4 separate regions of the Homo sapiens genome follow, and all the other regions are linked to region 2. Evidence: promoter capture Hi-C in human tissues and cell types (Jung and others, 2019). All regions are on one chromosome and are shown on one strand. Each heading gives the region's core, a stretch centred on a gene start or on the middle of the fragment in contact. The rest is flanking DNA. Distances are from core to core; before and after follow the strand shown. Region 1 has its middle 64 kb from the start of CRYM. Region 2 holds the start of EEF2K (eukaryotic elongation factor 2 kinase). Region 3 overlaps LOC101927814 (a long non-coding RNA gene). Region 4 has its middle 3.6 kb from the start of CRYM.

Region 1 (2,700 bases), core at 118-2,617, 860 kb after region 2:
GTCTCGCTCTGTCACCCAGGCTACAGTGCGGTGGCATAATCTCAGCTCACTGCAACCTCTACCTCCTGGATTCAAGCAATTCTCCTGCCTCAGCCTCCCAAGTAGCTGGGATTAGAGGCATGTGCCACCACACCTGGCTAAGTTTTGTATTTTTAGTAGAGACGGGGTTTCACCATGTTGTCCAGGCTGATCTCGAACTGCTGACCTCAGGTGATCAGTTTGCCTCAGCCTCCCAAAGTGCTGGGATTACAGGCATGAGCCACCACGCCTGGGCTCCCTGACTTTTAAACAACATTTTTTACAACTATAAAATTAATGCAGTGCTTATTGGAAATAACTGAGAAACTACAATAAAAGACAAAGGGAAAAATAAAAATTATCCTACTACCTAGAGATAGGCACTGTAAAAATGATCACACATAAATTTTTAATCAACTTCCACATATACCTATATATTTGCAATAAAAATGGTATCATGCCATAAGTATAGTCCTCACATCGCTCTCTGCTGCCCAGCTATGAATATTCAAGAGCAGAAGTCAAGTCATGAGCAATATTCCTACAGCCACATTTCAATAGCCACAGGTTACGCTGCTACATGGTATTTCAGTGAATGCCCCTAACCCACACCCTAGGACTGCTACCTCTCTCAAGTCCCAAGGCAGAATTCCTCATTGTAGTAGAAAGGCCACTGTACTCCAGCCTCAGCAACATAGCAAGACTCTGTCTCAAAAAAAAAAAAAAAAAAAAAAAATTAGGAGATATTAGAAATTGCCAGATTAGCAAAAGCTAAGAAAATTTGCTAATACACCTGCCCTATAATATAGTTCTTTCAGCTGAATGAAAGGACATTAGATGGTAACATGAAGTCACATGAAAAAATAAAGAGCTCCAGTGAAGGTAACTACATAGGCAGATATAAAAGCCAGTGTTATGATAATGGTTTCTTTTTCCTTCTATATGATTTAAAAGATAAATGCATAAAATAATGATAAACATGTTAATAGGCACACAATATAAAGATGTAATTTGCAAAAATACCAACACAAAGAGGGGCTGAAGCTTGACAGAAGAGCTTTTGTATAGTATTAAAGCTAAATTGTTATTAACCCAAATTAAATTGTTTAAGATACTAATTGTAAAATCCAAATTATCCCCTCAGAGAAGAACTAGAAAATATACAGAAAAGGAAATTAGATGGGACTCAAAATGGAAGCTATGAGAGAAAAAAGATATGACATATATAAAACAAATACCAAAACGGCAGATGTCAGTTCTGTATTTTTTTTTTTTTTTTTGAGATGGAGTCTCGCTCTGTCACCCAGGTTGGAATGCAGTGGCACGATCTTGGCTCACTGCAACCTCTGCCTCCCAGGTTCAAGCAGTTCTTCTGCCTCAGCCTCCTGAATAGCTGGGATTTCAGGCACGTATCACCACGCCCAGCTAATTTTTGTATTTTTAGTAAAGACAGGGTTTCACCATGTTGGTCAGGCTGGTCTCGAACTCCTGACCTTGTGATGTGTCTGCCTCAGCCTCCCAAACTGCTGGGATTACAGGTGTGAGCCACCACGCCCGGCCAATGTTCTGTATTATTATCTTCAATAAAAGGCAAGGGTGGCAGAATGGATTTTTTAAAAATGATTCAAATATACAAACTGGTTGAAAGTGAAAGGATGGAAAAAGATACTCCATGAAAATAACAAAAAGAGATCAGGGTGGTTATATGAATATCAGACAAAATAGACTTTAAGTAAAAATATTGTCAGAAAATTTCAATAACTATAAAAAATCAGAATGCGCTAACAGTTACAGAAGAGGAGACACACATGACTCATATTAGTAACACACAGCTTCATTAACAATTGGGAAATGTAGATTTAAATTGCTATGCGATAACATTTCATATCCCTAATTTGGCACAATTAAAAGCTTGGCAATTCTAAATATTGGCAAGAATATGGAGCATGAGGAATTCTCATCTCCTTCTAGTGAGGCTGTAAATTCATAAAACACTTTGCATGTGAGCCCTCAATGGGAAAAGAAATGATTTTTCTTGGTCTTTGTATATTAGACATGGTACAAGTTCAGATATCCACATTTTTCTTTTTTTTTTTTTTGAGACGGACTCTTACTCTGTTGCCCAGGCTGGAGTGCAGTGGCACGATCTCGGGTCACTGCAACCTCCACCTCCCAGGTTCAGGTGACTCTCCTGCCTCAGCCTCCTGAGTAACTGGGATTACAGGTGCCCACCACCACACATGGCTAATTTTTGTATTTTCAATAGAGACGGAGTTTCACCATGCTGGCCAGGTTGGTATCGAAGTCCTGACCTCAAGTGATCCACCCACCTCAGCCTCCCAAAGTGCTGGGATTACAAGTGTGAGCCACCATGCCCAGTCACAGATATCCAAAAATGTTAACAAATGAATGAATGTATAGCTGCATCCACTGACTTGACTTCCTATTCATTCCCATCTTCAAATCCTTCACAAACCTACCTTGATTGAAGCATAGCATTTCCAGGCCTATCTCAACCTGCAATATCTTTTTTTTTTTTTTTTTTTTTTTGATGTTGTCTCGCTCTGTCCCCCAGGCTGGAGTGCAGTGGCGTGATCTCGGCTCACTGCAAGCTCCGCCTCCCGGGTTCACGCCATTCTCCTGCCTCAGCCTCCCGAGTAGCTGGGACTACAGGCGCCCGCC
Region 2 (2,700 bases), core at 40-2,539:
TCCAAGCACCTGACATATACATACTCATCTACTCTTTCCAAGGATACTAAGTGGTAGATACTAATACTGTACCCATTTTACCGATGAGAAAACCGAGGGCCAGAGAGCATAAATGAGCTAGAATTCCAACCCAGGACTCCAGCCCTAGTGTTTCCTGCTTTCCTGGCTGAAGAAGCACCCACCACCGAGGTCCCAGAGGTCGGGCTCCCTGGGACCGTCCCCCTGGGCAGATCTCACTTCCCCATGCGGCCCATCTGTCACACTCAGGGCGCAGCTGGGCTGGTTCCCCGAAATCCCCCAGGCGCGCGCAAAAGGATCTAGGCCGGGGCTTACCCGGGAGGCCCCCACCCCCGCGCGGCCACCGGCTTATTAATGCCCAGCCCCTTGGCACACATGTCAGCAGCGCCTGCCAACAAACTCCCGCAGCCAACAATGCAGCAAGGGCGCGTCTATACAGTCCTGGAGGTTCCGGGAATTCGGGCTGACGCAGGCCTCTAGTTCAGGGGAAAGGTGGGGGATGCGGCTCTGAGCCCTGCAGGGGACAGGAAGGCAGCGATGCGCCCACACTCTAGGGGCCCCGAGGGGGGAGGCCCCCAAACTCTCTGTCACTTGCAGCCAGATCACCGCCCATTGCTTGCCAATTGCTTTCCATATCCACATCGCCTTTAATCCGCACAACTTCCCCATTTCTCCAAAGCAAGCACTTAGCCCCAGAGAGTTTAACAACCAGAGGAGAAGCGCCCCCACACTCTCCTTCCATGCCTTCTCCGGCCCCATTCCCAAGCCCAGACCCAGCACGCTCCAGACGCCAGCTGCACCCGGGCGCACAGGCCTGCAGCGCGGGCTCCCAGCCCCCCACAGCCTTGCCGGCCGCGGTCCACACCTACCTCCCTCGGGCAGACAGGCGCGGCAGCCGCTGCCCACGGCCGCGAGGGTCCAGAGGAGTTGGCAGAGGCTCGCGGCCCGGAGCTCCAGGGTGCAGGGCGGGCGGGCCCCCCGAGAGTGCCGGGGAGCGGAGAGCGGGGAGCGCTAGCTGGCGCTCCGGGCAAGCAGCTGGGGCCACGCGGGGTAGATGGACCGATCCCAGGGCGCGCGGGGCAGTCGGAGTGATCCCAGGAAGGGCGCAGGGGCCGTTGGGACGATCCCGGGATGTGGGAGCGCGTGCCAGGGGGGACTCGCGTGCAGGCGACAGCGAGCGGGACTCGGGTGGCTGCAGGGCCGGGAGTGCGGGCGCTCGATCCAGGAAGGAGGGGAGCTGAGGCTGAAGCTGGGGCTGGTCTAGGTTGAGCAGAAGCGGGCGGGCAGGGGCGGGGCTGGCCTGGCGGGCGCACGGCGTGGCGCTCACGTGGCCGCCCCCAGGTGGCCATCACAGCGCCTGCAGCCGCCTAGCGGGCCTCCTGGCTCCGGCGCTGGCTCCCAGCCCCAGGTGCAATGGTTAGCGCTAAGTCTTGGCTCCCCCTGCTGAGTACACAGTGTCCGGTTCTCCTGCTCAAGGCTGGCCTAGCATCCGGCAGCGAGGGGGCAATTCGAGGGAGTGACCAACTTCCGTCCTCTCCCGCCGCGCCTCGCCATTCTCGCCTGCTTCTCGCTTAGTTCCTGTATTCCTGTCCTTTCCAAAATCATTAGTGATCCAAGCCCATCGCTTGTTTGTATGTATCTCTATCCATAACCTTAAAATATTTTTTATCGGAAATACTTTGTTTTTCCTGATTTCTGCTTTGTAAAAACAGGCACGTATGACGATTGCAATTATTTGTGTAGTTTTAAAATTAGTATCTCCTTTAGTTATTCCTAACTCTTGACACAGGGCCTGGGTGGCACACAGTAGATGCTTAATAAATACCTGTGGCATGAGTGGTAGAGTGGCTAAGGTATAAAAAAGAAAACGAATTAAAACTAATAGCTACTGTGAACACTTTAATATTAGGTCCTTCCAGATACTTTGTTAGTGAAATTTTAGAAATTTCACACATTCTAGATAGAAAAGTAGTAACAATGACATGTTTTGAGGGATTTCTCTCATTCCATCTTCCCAGCACTTTGGGAGGCCGAGGCCGGCAGATCACCTGAGGTCAGGAGTTCGAGACCAGCCTGGCCAAAACGGTAAAACCCTGTCTTTAGTAAAAATACAAAAAAGCAGCCGGGCGCGCCTGTAGTCCCAGCTACTCTGGAGGCTGAGGCACGAGAATCGCTTGAACCCTGGAGGCAGAGGTTGCAGTGAGCCGAGATCGCGCCACTACACTCCAGCCTGGGTGAAGGAATGAGACTCCGTCGCAAAAAAACAAAAACAAAAAAATAAAAAAGAAAAAAGAACAAAACTGAGGCTTATAGAGATAATGACATGCCCCAGGTGAGGCAGCTAGAAAAGGCAGAGCCAGCAGTAAATCCAGACTTCTCTGATTTCAAAGTTCAGGCTCTCCAAAGAACTTTTTTCCTTATTTATAAACCCCAAAGAGAGTAAACTCCAGCTTTTGGCAAGACAAAATTGCACCTGGAATTCTGACCCTGGGGCCGTCAGGCAGGAAGGGAAGATCAAAGATGCTGAACTAGTCTGTCCAAGCCCAAAGCAAGATTGGAAAAAAAAAAAAGACGCTACTGCTTAAAGCTCTATGGCCCTTGGGCAAGTTATTTTACTTCTCTGAGCCTCTGTCATTTTTGTCTGCCCAGCAGGAGTGTCCTTCTTTGCATTAGCGTCTTGGT
Region 3 (2,700 bases), core at 109-2,608, 610 kb after region 2:
TGCCAAACTTGAAAGCTTCCAGATTTCCCAAGTTCCTCCTGGACTACAGGTATCCCCAATAATTGTGACAACAGAAATGGAGATAGTGCAGGACAGGCAAGTCCCAAAGTGGTGCTTAGCCCTCTGGGTTCTTGGCTTTATCAGGAAGGAATTCAAAGGCAAGCCAGAGGTAGAAGAAAACAGCTATATTGAAGAGGCTGTGTTACAGCTCCATGACTGCTCCTGCAGAGCAGGGCTACCCCATAGGGAGAGAGTAGCAGCTGAGGGTAGTTCAGTTCTGTAGCCATATTTATACCCACTTTTTTTTTTTTTTTTTTGAGATGGAGTCTCGCTCTGTCGCCAGGCTGGAGTGCAGTGGCACGATCTCAGCTCACTGCAACCTCCGCCTCCCAGGTTCAAGTGACTCTCCTGCCTCAGCCTCCTGAGTAGCTGGGACTACAGGCATGCGCCACCACATCCAACTAATTTTTCTATGTTGAGTAGAGACGGGGTTTCACCATGTTGGCCAGGCGGTCTCGAATTCCTGACCTCATGATCTGCCTGCCTCGACCTCCCAAAGTGCTGGGATTATAGGCGAGAGCCACTGTACCCAGCCTGTACTTGAAACTAAAAGTGGGAGGCTGGGCATGGTGGCTCATGCCTATAATCCCTGCACTTTGGAAGGTTGAGGTGGGTGGATCATGAGGTCAGATGTTCGAGACCAGCCTGGCCAACATGGTGAAACCCCATCTCTACTAAACATACAAAAAATAGCCAGGTGTGGTGGCAGGCGCCTGTAATCCCAGCTACACAGGAGGCTGAGGCAGGAGTCGCTTGAACCCGGGCGGCAGAGGTTGCAGTGAGCCGAGATCGCATGTCACTGCACTCCAGCCTGGGCAATGGAGCAGGACTCTGTCTCAAAAAATAAATAAATAAATAAATAATTGCATGTAGATTAAAGAGCTGTTTATGCAGAAATTTCTAGGGAATGGGCAGTAACTCCTAGGTCATTGGATCACTGCCATGGAAAGTGACAGTAACTGTCGAGTGTTGCCATGGCAGTGGTAAATCGACATGGCACACTGGTGAGCATGTCTGATTAAAACTACTTTCGCCCAGGCCCTGTTTTGGCTAGTTCTTAATCTGGTCCAGTGTCCACTCCAGTGTCCGAGCTCAACCTCTGGAGTAGAGTCCCACCTGCTACCTCCGACTGCTCATCAGAGCCTTCTAGAATGTGAGGAATCCCAGTGTCCCTCACATACACTCACAGAGTCCTGGAGAAAACGAAATGAGTTGTCTGGGCAGCTGTCAGCACAATCCCCTATATATATAGTCAGCTCTCAGATAGTAGCTGTGGTGGTTATTATGGAATCATAAGGCAGATGTAAACCTAGCTCTCCTTGGACAAGTTACTTAAGCAGTCCAAGAGATGAACAGCCATCTACTTTAAACTTAGTCTACTATAAGACAAATTAATTAGGGAGAGTCCTTCAACCTAAATCCTGGGCTCCACCAAATGAATCAGTTTCTCCAACAGAACTGTGTGAATTAGGCATTTTATTTTATTTAATTATTATTTTTTGAGACAGGGTCTCTGTTGCCCAGGCTGGAGTGCAGTTGCACAATCTCAGCTCACTGCAACCTCCGCCTCCTAGCTCAAGCGATCCTCCCACCTCAGCCCCCCAAGTAGCTGGGGCTACAGGCACACACCACCATGCCCGGCTAGTTTTTTATGTTATCTTATAGAGACACAGTTCGCCATGTTGCCCAGGCTGGTCTTGAACTCCTGGACTCAAGTGATCTGCCTGCCTCGACCTCCCAAAGTGCCAGGATTACAGGCATGAGCTACCATGCCTGGCCTCTAAATTAGGCATTTTAATACACATGTTTTGTACCACCTAAGTTGTGCTTTTTTTTTATTTTTATTTTTTCAAGATGGACTTTCACTCTTGTTACCCAGGCTGGAGTGCAATGGCGGGATCTCGGCTCACTGCAAGCTCCGCCTCCCGGGTTCAAGCGATTCTCCTGCCTCAGCCTCCTGAGTAGCTGGGATTACAGGCATGCGCCACCATGCCTGGCTGATTTTTTTTGTATTTTTAGTAGAGAGGCGGTTTCTCCATGTAGGTCAGGCTGGTCTCGAACTCCCAACCTCAGGTGATCCACCCCGCCTCAGCCTCCCAAAGTGCTGGGATTACAGGCGTGAGCCACCACGCCCAGCCCACTTCTGTATTTATACAGATCCTTCTGCCTGTGCTTCTGAATCCTTAAAAGACATCTTCACATACAGTATAAGCTACTTAAAGGAATATAAGTATTTTTAAATATATATTTCAACTAAATAATGTCCTTCCAATAACAGGTCTATGAGTCAGAGCTCTGACAAAAGACAGAAGGCTGTTGCTTTCATTCAGTTTCTAGGGCATTTTTGAAGGTCCAAATATCTTTCATCTAGTTTTAAATATCCTTTCGAAACAACCCTGTCCTTGGCCTCTTAATTGCTTTCTTTTGCATGTATGTGGGCTTGCTCTTCTAAATGACTGCTTCCTCTCCACCAAATTCACCGTGGGTATTTATTTTGAAATTATAAAGGCTTCTTATTTTATAAATATGAAACATTAAAACTTATGGTTTATATGAAATACATGGGGGAAGTGTCCTGTATTATGAGAAATCTTTTAAAACTTAAAATGTAAATTTTTTACGATAGACCAAATGTGTATA
Region 4 (2,700 bases), core at 67-2,566, 920 kb after region 2:
GCTCTACCCTGCTGCCATCTTCACTGTGGTAGTGGCAGAAGTCTAGGGGGATGTAAGTAACCACCTCCTCCGCAGGGTCTGTTAGGGGTTAGCAGGGAACTTCCAGAGGCTCAGGCACAGGAGCTTACATGGCCCCCAGGCTTGTCCCAGGACAAGGTCTCAGGGAAGGGCGGGGAAAAGAGATTTACACCAGCTTTCTCAATACTGACCCCTGCATTACTAAAAAGTTTATTAATCTTCTTTCTGTTAAGTCATAATTATAATAATAATTTCATTATTTTAATAATAATAAAATAAACCTCAATAACACCTAATATTTAATATGCTACTTATTAATAATACTTATTATTGGAGGCTTGGGACAATTAGTTCTCTGTGCCTCTGGTCTCAAAAGAAGTGATGCAACCAAGACTAGTTTTCTCAGTGCTACTTTACTGAGGACCTGGGTGATGTGAACCAAAGCTTTATCAGGAAGATGATTTGAGATGATTTGCAGAGTTGTCCTGTTTCTACAGGATTCACTGGAGTGAATTCCTATTATTGAGGTTTCTTATTTTGTCATTGTTAAAATAATGAAATTACTATTATAATCATGACTTAAAGAAGATTAATAAACTTTCTAGTAATGTGGGAGTCAGAAATAAGATTTCTATTTAATCGGGGCTAAATTCCTGAATTTACTATGGAAGCAAATAAATATCTGGCTTTCTTATTTCATATCTCTTTTAGTTGATGAGTATTTGGTTTTGCTTTTTTTCTCCTTGTTAACTTTAAAAAAAAAACCACACAATTTATAAATTTAGACAAGAAGAGACTTTCTTATACGAGGTTACAGCCTGCAAGGTGGGATCCTATGCTGGGAAGCACGCTGTATTATTCCGTTTTCATGCTGTCTATAAACACATGCCTGAGACTGGGCAATTTACAGAAGAAAGAGGCTTATTGGATTTACAGTTCCACATGGCTGGGGAGGCCTCACAATCATAGTGGAAGGCAAGGAGGAACAAGTCACATCTTACATGGAGGGCAATAGCAAAGAGAGAGCTTGTGCAGGGCAACTCCCATTTTTAAAACCATCAGATCTCGTGAGACTCATTCACTATCATCAGAACCGCAGGGGAAAGACCCGCCTCCATGATTCAGTCATCTCCCACTGGGTCCCTCCCACAAGATGTGGGAATTATGGGAGCTATAAGAAGAGATTTGGGTGTGGACATGGAGCCAAACCATATCACATGCCTTGGCCAAGATCAGAGACAGGCACTTTGAAGGAGGAGGGTTGGGGTAGGAGCTTTATGCTCAACAGGTTGGCTAAATATACATATTCAACAGGTGAGAGAAGAAGCTATGAATATTCATGAAAGTGGTCCTGATGCATGTGTATTTAACAAACATGCATGTTACATACAACTCATGTTCATTTTGGGGTGGTTGCAGCATTTAAATGTATTACAATTCAGCCTGATACGTCAAAAGGTCTTTTCAGGACATGAAGGCATGCAAGTGTGCAACCTCTGTAAGTCAGCCAGAACCATCCTATAGTCGGTAGTCTTATCAGGAGAAAGTTACTGAAATCAGTCTCTTGTCCAATCAAGCTGTAGTTATGGCTGGTGGAACAAGGGGTCGGTTAGTCAATATCTGTGATTTGGATGAGTTGTAATTGTTTTAATATTGCATATCTTCAGCCGGGCACGGTGGCTCATGCCTGTAATCCCAGCACTTTGGGAGGCCAAGGCGGGTGGATCATCTCAGGTCAGGAGTTCGAGACCGAGACCAGCCTGGCCAACATGACAAAACCCCATCTCTACTGAAAGTACAAAAATTAGCCGGGGGTGGTGGCATGCACCTGTAATCCCAGCTACCTGAGAGGCTGAGGCAGGAGAATCACTTGAGATCATGCCACTGCACTCCAGTCTGGGTGACAGAGAGGGACTTTGTTTCAAAAAAAAAATTTATATATATATATATGCACATATATACATATCTATATAGATACATAGATACATATACATATCTATATAGATACATAGATACGTATATATGTATATACATATATGTTTGTGTATATATATATATACAGAGAGAGAGAGAGAGAGAGAGAGAGTGAGAGAGAGAGAGAATCACTCTGTTGTCCAGGCTGGAGTGCAGTGGCACGATCTCGGCTCACTGCAACCTCCACCTCCCTGGTTCAAGCAATTCTCCTGCCTCAGCCTCCTGAGTAGCTGGGATTACAGGCACATGCTACCACACCTGGCTAATTTTTGTACTTTTTGTAGAGATGGGGTTTCATCACGTTGGCCAGGCTGGTCTCAAACTCCTGACCTCACATGATCCGCCCGCCTTGGCCTCCCAAAGTGCTGGGATTACAGGTGTGAGCCACTGTGCCCAAGCCATGTTCCCTATCTTCTCTGAGCAGGGCTGGGGAAAACAAAAACAAAAATATTGCTTATCTTCAAGCCAGTGCTTGTTTAGCTGCTGGAGAAAACAAAAACTCTGTGGCAGTTAGAACATAGCTTTTTTCTTTAAGTGTAAGGGTGCGTGACTTAACCCTTCCTGGCATGGCCTTAGATCCTGTTTATAATTTGTTATCGTATTGCCACAAAGAGTCTGTTCTGTCAGTCTTGTGATCTCTGTATTAACATTAAGGCTGCTCAGTTGTGTCTAAACTCTAAAAGGGAGAGGATGTAATGAGGCATATCT

Evidence for each region. The method cuts DNA at HindIII sites, captures the fragments that hold promoters and counts their contacts. A contact is called where the count stands out against the background at its distance.
Region 1: a fragment that was not itself captured here is called in contact with the fragment with the promoter of EEF2K in region 2 in 2 of the 25 tissues and cell types used here (lymphoblastoid cells and mesendoderm cells).
Region 3: a fragment that was not itself captured here is called in contact with the fragment with the promoter of EEF2K in region 2 in 1 of the 25 tissues and cell types used here (spleen).
Region 4: a contact is called between a fragment that was not itself captured here and the fragment with the promoter of EEF2K in region 2, in 1 of the 25 tissues and cell types used here (H1 embryonic stem cells).

Annotation. Positions count from the first base shown.
Region 1 is chr16:21,340,531-21,343,230 of GRCh38, reverse strand. No RefSeq gene overlaps it. Among named protein-coding and RNA genes, the nearest start is that of CRYM, 64 kb to the right of the region's middle. The HindIII fragment of the contact is 4,162 bases long and covers 1-2,700 here.
Region 2 is chr16:22,204,867-22,207,566 of GRCh38, reverse strand. EEF2K (eukaryotic elongation factor 2 kinase) reads right to left here and starts at 1,289. Exons shown (of 18, transcript NM_013302.5): 1 at 888-1,289. RefSeq lists silencers at 789-1,058, 1,219-1,518. The HindIII fragment of the contact is 13,900 bases long and covers 1-2,700 here.
Region 3 is chr16:21,590,705-21,593,404 of GRCh38, reverse strand. All of the region lies in intron 2 of LOC101927814 (a long non-coding RNA gene), which reads left to right. Among named protein-coding and RNA genes, the nearest start is that of METTL9, 7.5 kb to the left of the region's middle. The HindIII fragment of the contact is 6,124 bases long and covers 1-2,700 here.
Region 4 is chr16:21,280,514-21,283,213 of GRCh38, reverse strand. It overlaps a transcript of CRYM not described here. Among named protein-coding and RNA genes, the nearest start is that of CRYM, 3.6 kb to the right of the region's middle. The HindIII fragment of the contact is 6,987 bases long and covers 1-2,700 here.